Linked DNA regions of Homo sapiens: region 1 is linked to region 2. The links are contacts of gene promoters, found by promoter capture Hi-C in blood cells and fetal thymus (Javierre and others, 2016). All regions are on one chromosome and are shown on one strand. Each heading gives the region's core, a stretch centred on a gene start or on the middle of the fragment in contact. The rest is flanking DNA. Distances are from core to core; before and after follow the strand shown.

Evidence for each region. The method cuts DNA at HindIII sites, captures the fragments that hold promoters and counts their contacts. A CHiCAGO score of 5 or more calls a contact.
Region 1: a contact is called between a fragment that was not itself captured here and the fragment with the promoter of HSDL1 in region 2, in 1 of 17 cell types (M0 macrophages). The highest score is 5.0, in M0 macrophages.

Annotation. Positions count from the first base shown.
Region 1 is chr16:83,975,573-83,978,779 of GRCh38, forward strand. It overlaps NECAB2 (N-terminal EF-hand calcium binding protein 2), which reads left to right. Exons shown (of 13, transcript NM_019065.3): 3 at 2,872-2,980. Among named protein-coding and RNA genes, the nearest start is that of NECAB2, 8.9 kb to the left of the region's middle. The HindIII fragment of the contact is 1,086 bases long and covers 733-1,818 here.
Region 2 is chr16:84,143,256-84,146,645 of GRCh38, forward strand. It overlaps HSDL1 (hydroxysteroid dehydrogenase like 1), which reads right to left and starts at 1,922. Exons shown (of 6, transcript NM_031463.5): 1 at 1,825-1,922. DNAAF1 (dynein axonemal assembly factor 1) reads left to right here and starts at 2,053. Exons shown (of 12, transcript NM_178452.6): 1 at 2,053-2,309. The coding sequence starts at 2,186. RefSeq lists silencers at 1,347-1,396, 1,447-1,496, 1,657-2,106. The HindIII fragment of the contact is 7,366 bases long and covers 1-3,390 here.

The DNA.
Region 1 (3,207 bases), core at 26-2,525, 170 kb before region 2:
GTCAGGGTGGCTCCTGTGACAGAGACTTGTTTGGCTGAGCTGGATACCGGATGCCCAGTCCCTATGGGAAGGTTAGCATGAGGGGCCTGACTGGCAGCCTGGGACATAAACTCAGGGGGTGGCAGAGGGCTGAGTGGCAGACAGCATTTCCCTTCAGGGACATGGACGCTGACAGGCTGACAGGCTCTTGGCATTTGAAAGGTCATGGAGACAGAGAGTGAGTTTGTGCTAATTAGCAAAGACACCTGCAAACGGCCCGCTTGGGGTCTCTGGCAAAAGTGCCAGCGCGGGCCCGCTTGGCCTGTCTAATTGGACTGGGGGCCTACGTAGGGCATGTTTTTTCCTCATTAGTGAATTCATTAGGGCCGTGATCAGGCGTTCAGGATAAATGTCAGCCGAAAGCTTAGTGAGGGGGCACCTTGCTGGCCTCTGTCTGCCTGCTCTCCCTGTGTGCCGAGGGGGCACCTTGCTGGTCTCTGGCTGCCTGCTCTCCCTGTGTGCAGAGGGGGCCCAAGGTACCTGGACAGGCACGTGGGGAGATGAGCCAGCCAGAGGGAGGCTGGGATTGGGGCTCACAACCCCTGTCATGCCCATGGTGACTGCCCCTCACCCAAAGTGGGGGTGCCTGAGCCAGCACCCACCCCCTGCTGGGTAGGTGGCGATGTCGCCACAAGATCCTACCCCTGGATTAGGTTGAGAGCCTGGACTTGGGAGCCAGATGGCCTGGGTTCAAGCTTCAGCTGTAGGACCTAGGCAAGTACCCTAAGGGCTCTGTGCCTCAGTTTACCCCTCTCTAACATGGAAGTGGTAGTACTACCTGTGTCGTGAGTGTTAAGAAGACTAAAGGAGTGAGTCCGTGGAAGGTACTCCACGTGTGGTGTGACTCCACACTGGGATTCCTGGGTTTTATCTTCAGGCTTGCCGAAGACACTCGGAAGGCATCCTCTGTCACAGAACACAGAAAGCAACAACTTCGATTTCACTTATCTCGTGGCTGACTTTGCGGACTTTTAGTTGTTAGGTTTTGGGTCTTTGGTTTGTGCATGTGTGGTTGGATTGGGGTTTTTTTGGCCTTTCCTTTGAAAGACAGAAATTCTTCCCACTGTAACCTTGAAATCTGAGCTGCGATGGGGGCATCTTGGGATATTGGCCCTAGCCCCCCGTGCCCACACGTTCATATTCTTTACCGGTCTCTGATACTTTATGCTCTATGGGGTTAAAGAGAAAAGTGGTGGCATGAAACCTTGGCAAGATCTGAGGACCCCCCCTCTCCTGAGCTTATGCTCTCACCCTGTGTTGAGCTCCAGCAGAGCTGCTGGGAGCACAGACAGAAGCACTGGAGCCTTTAAAGTTTAAGAATGACTCATTCTCAACCCAAGTACGTCTGCCATGTCGGGTTAGGCAGGTTGTGCGCTGCACAAGGGCACCCACCCGAGGAAATGGAGGGTTTCAAATCCAGGCTGCAATCCGCTTTCAACACATGTGCACTGACACTGGTCTCATCCTCTCGGCAGAGAAAGGAGAGTCTTTTTCTAATCCATAGGAAGGTGCCATGTGGACTCTCAGGGCCCTTGTCCCAAGCACCCAGCTTTGAATGCAGATCCTCTGGAAGTAATGCCAGGGGTTTATGCAGAGAGGCTGGGGGCCAGGAACTGTCATGGGCTCCCTCTTGTCTCTGACCTCCATGCCACTCACATAGTTTCTCTTAAGGAGGAACAGATCCTTGAGGAGGGGGGAGGTGGCTGCAGGGCAGGTGGGGGATGAGCTTGCTGGCATTTGCTCAGCAGGTCTGTTCAGGTGGAAGGAGCTGAGGGTGGAAGCTTAGGGACCGCCTCCCAGAGTCCCTGATGTTCTTAAGCCACCTCCCCTGGTGGCCCAATCTGATCCAAACCCACAAGACCTTCCTGGTAGGGCCAAAAGTGTCCCCAGAGCAACTGCAAGTGAAGGGAAAAGGTGAGGCGATGGGTGGGACTGGTGGCATGTGTCCCACCCATCCCTCCACAGAGCCCCTCCACAGAGGAGCTGTGGAGGCCCCTCTGTGGAGCTCCACCTCAGAAGCACAGCCTCTGGCCAGAGCGTTGGCACCTCCAGGCCTGGCACCTCCTTCCTGCATGGCTTGGCATCTAGATGGCTGCATCTGTGGCCTGGGAGAGGAGGTAACTGAGAACCTCATGCCGGCCATTGGCAGCCATCTCATGCTGCCTCAGGGAAGGACCTGAAGTTTGCCACATAGATGGGGCGGAGAAGAAAGGGTTCTTCTGTACTCTAAGAACAGTGCTGAGAGAGTCAGGGCTTAGGGGCTGGGATTGGGGTTGGGAGCATGCAGAGACCACTTGGCGTTTGGAAGCTATGGAGTGGTGGCTCATCCAGCTGCTGGTTTTTGGATCCACTTCATACCGATGGTGTGACATGGGACAAGTTGCTCACAGTGGGTTATCTTAAATAGCACCTGCCTCCAGGTGGCCATGTAAATTGAGAGAAAATTCACTGGCAGGGGGCAGATACTCTATATTTGTTGAACGCATGGAAAATGTTGAGTGCATGGTGAGCCCAAGAAAGCTAGCTATTGCATTATTGTTAGTTTGAGGATTATCTGTAAACAGGCATTGGTCTGGGAATTAGCTGGATGAGGCATGATTCTCTGTGTACTGGAGTTTACTGGTTAGTGTGGGAATTAGCTGGGTGGGTAGGGATTATCTAAAATGGAATTTGTCTTTTAGTTTGGGGATTAGCTGGGAGGGTAGGGATTATCTGAGCTGCAGTTGTTCTGTCAGTCAGGCCATTGACTGGATTTGGGGGCCGTGCATGCACTAGCCCCACCAGCCTTATCTCTGCAGACACCAGCTCCTTTCTCTGCTTCCTTCCTTGCAGATGATGGGAAGCTGTCCTTGGAGGAATTCCAGCTCTTCTTTGCAGATGGCGTCCTTAATGAGAAAGAACTGGAGGATCTCTTTCACACGATTGACTCTGACAACACCAAGTGAGCTTCAGTCCTGGCTGGCAGAGTGGGGGTGTGTGTGGGCTGTGGTGGAGGCATCTTTTCATCTAGTGTCCGTTCCTAGTCCCCTGTAAGGGGCAGGAGAACTGAAAATCCCCAAATTTGCTAATCCAGAAGTCAGCTCTTCACTGCCTGGGGTGAATGGGGCGTGTGCAGATTCATATTGCATTGGCTACTATCGCAAGTGTGTCTTCTGAGTGCACATGGCC
Region 2 (3,390 bases), core at 672-3,171:
TATTATTCAGCCATAAAAAAGCATGAAGTACTGATACATACTACAACATGGATAAACTTTGAAAACATTATGCTAAAGGACAGAAACCAAATACAAAAGGCCGTATGTTGTATGTTTCCACTTGTATGAAATGTCCAGCATAAGCAAATCCATAGAGACAGAAGATAACTTAGGGCTGCTGAGGGACAGGGGGAGAAAAGAGGTATGACTGTTAATGGGGTTGGGGTTTCTTTTGTAGGTGATTAAATGTTCTGGAATTAGTTACTGGTGATGGTTGCATAGCATTGTGACTATAGCAAGAACTACTGAGTTATACACTGTAAAATGGCTAAAATGATAAATTTTATGTCATGCGTAAGTCATTTCGATTTTTGAAAACCTACTTTAAAAAAAAGTAGCACCAATATGTTCAACTCTGTTGCCCTAGAATATTCCAGCAGTGATTAAAACCACAAACTTGGCCGGGTACAGTGGCTCATGTCTGTAACCCCAGAACTTTGGGAGGCCAAGGCGGGCAGATCACTTGAGGCCAGGAGTTCAAGGCTACCCTGACCAACACAGCGAAACCCCGTCTCTACTAAAAAAAAAAAAAAAAAAATTAGCTGGGTGTGGTAGAACGTGCCTGTAATCCCAGCTACTCGGAAGGCTGAGGCAGGAGAATCACTTGGGCCCGGGGTGCGGGATGGCGGGCAGAGGTAGCAGGAGCTGAGATCGCAGGCACCATTGCACTACAGCCCGGGCGACAGAGCGAGATTGTCTGAATCAATCAATCAATCAACACCCTCCCCCTCCCCCTCCCTCTCCCTCTCCCTCCCTCCCTCTCTCTCTCTCTCTCTCTCCTGTGGCGGTCAGAGTAAAATTGAGAGCTCACTTTATGCAAAAGACTCTGCTAAGTGCTTTATTCCTATTGTCTCACTTTATTCTCTCATTAATCTTATAAAGCGCAGTCAGACTCTCCCGTTTATAGATGGGGAAATTGAGTCTTATAGATGTAAAGTCGCACACCCAAGACCCCACAACTCAGAAAGGGGCTACCTGCAATTCAGATGGAGGTATAGCAAGGCGCAGAGTCCTGTCCAGGGAGCCCACTGTGAGACCCCCCGACTGCCTCGCAGTCACCTGTACACATCATGTTGGGATCGCCGAGGGGCGCTGCAGCGATCCGGTTTCTGGGGCTGCGTCTGGGTGGCACGTTCAGAACGGGGACCTGCCTGGTTCTTCTTCCCAGCCCTTCCCCTCCAGCACCCGGCAAGGCCCAGTCAACACGAGCAAACTCGGAAATCCTGGCTGAACCCACGACCGCTGCATATTTCCATTTTAGAAAAACACGGCAACAACAACTCAAACCAAATCGTTCAGAAATGAGAATAAAGAAGCACCGACAAAGGAGGCGATTGCTGGGGCCGCTCGGGGGAGGAGCCGGGTGAGAGGCTGCAGGGAGGGCAGGGCATGCGCCGGCGACAACGGGGTTCGCGGTTTGGGGGGCAAGGCCCGGGGGAAGAGAGAGAACAGGGGTGCAGCGCCGCGGCGGGGGGCGTGAGGATGGAGCCGGGGGAAGGGGGGCTCTGAGATGTGAAGGGGCGGGGCTGGGGCTTTTTGGTCTGAAGGAAGGAGTCTCACGGGACGGAGGGACGAAGATTTCCTGGGGTCAGGGGCGCCAAGGGGCTTCGGGGCCGGATGCAGCGGAGGGGGCCCGGGGCCTGGGGGGCGTGGTGAGAGCTCAGAGGGGTCTCGCCAAGCAGCCGGCTGGCGCTGAGGGGACCGAGGAGGGGTCTGGGGCGAAAGGACCGCGAGAGGGCGCCCAGGGCGCGGGGGGCGCGGTACCTGCAGGCCGGCAAAGTCTTCCAAACCGGTCCCGCCAGACCCGCGCGGCCGCCGCCCCCGTCTCGGCCGCCGGAGCTGCTGCCGCGCCGCGCCCTCACGTGACCCGCGTACGCGCCGGGGGCGGAGCCGTCTCAGACCCGCCCCCACCCCCCGGCGTCCCCAGCGCGCCGGTCCGTCCCGAGTGCGCGTGCGCAGCGGTTGCCTGGGCGACCGGGGAAGCGTTGGGCTGTAAAGACTAGGGCGCCAGCGGCTGGCGAAGAAGGAAAGAGGGTACTCTCTGGCTGGGCTGGGGCCGTAGCGACGTCCGCCGCGAACCTGGGCCCCCCAAAGCTGCGGGGCGTTCGGTGTCGCCGAAGTAAACATGCACCCTGAGCCCTCGGAGCCTGCGACAGGTGGTGCAGCAGAGCTGGATTGCGCGCAGGAGCCCGGCGTGGAGGAGTCTGCGGGTGACCACGGGAGCGCAGGCCGAGGGGGCTGCAAGGAAGGTGCCGACTGCCCCCCAGGGAGGGCGGTGGGCGAGGGGCAGACACGGCTAGGCGCTCCAGCCCCCTTCCCACACCACATACCCGATCTTCACAGCCAAATAATAACAATAATAATAATGGTAGCAAGCAACGCTCTGCAGTAGGGGCTTCTCTCGCCATTTCGTACTGAGGAGGAAACATACTTAAGAGGTTACAAAACTTGCACCAAACAGATAACCCTCGGCTAGTCAGTGACAGAAGAGACTTGGCCGGGTGCGGTGGCTCAACGCCTGTAATTCCAGCACTTTGGGAGGCCGAGGCGGGCGGATCATCAGGTCAGTCAGGAGTTCGAGACCAGCCTGGCCAACATAGTGAAACCCTGTCTCTACTAAAAATACAAAAAATGAGCTGGGCGTGGTGGCGGGCGCCTGTAGTCTCAGCTACTTGGGAGGCTGAGGCAGGAGAATCGCTTGAACCCGGGAGGCGGAGGTTGCAGTGAGCCAAGATCTCGCCATTGCATTCCAGCCCGGACGACAGTGGGAGACTCCGTCTCAAACAAACAAACAAACAAACAAGCAAACAAAACCCACCAGACTCAGGCCCAGACAGTCTGGGTCTCCAGAGCCCCAGCCCTAACCCACCACGCTATTCTCCCTGGTCCCAACTTTGATGCTTTAAATGTGTCCCTTTATTGCTATCACTATGTAAGATCAAAGGCTTTCTCTCCCTCCAGACTGCATGTTGTGTCAGGGCAAGACATCTTGATTGAATTTGGAGTCTAGTCCAGTGCCTGACCTAGGGTAGAGAGTCCGAATGAAGACTTGGTTCTGGGGTCAGTGTGTGATCCCCTCACCAAAGTTTGCCAGAATGGACTTGAAAGATAACCTTCATGGCCAGGCACGGTGGCTCACGCCTGTAATCCCAGCAATTTGGGAGGCAGAGGCAGGTGGGTCACCTGAAGTCAGGAGTTCGAGACCAGTCTGGCCAACATATTGAAACCCTGTCTTTGCTAAAAACACAAAAATTAGCAGGGCGTGGTGACGTGCTCCTGTAATTCCACTTACTTGGGAGGCTAAGGCAGGAGAATTCCCTGAACCCCGGA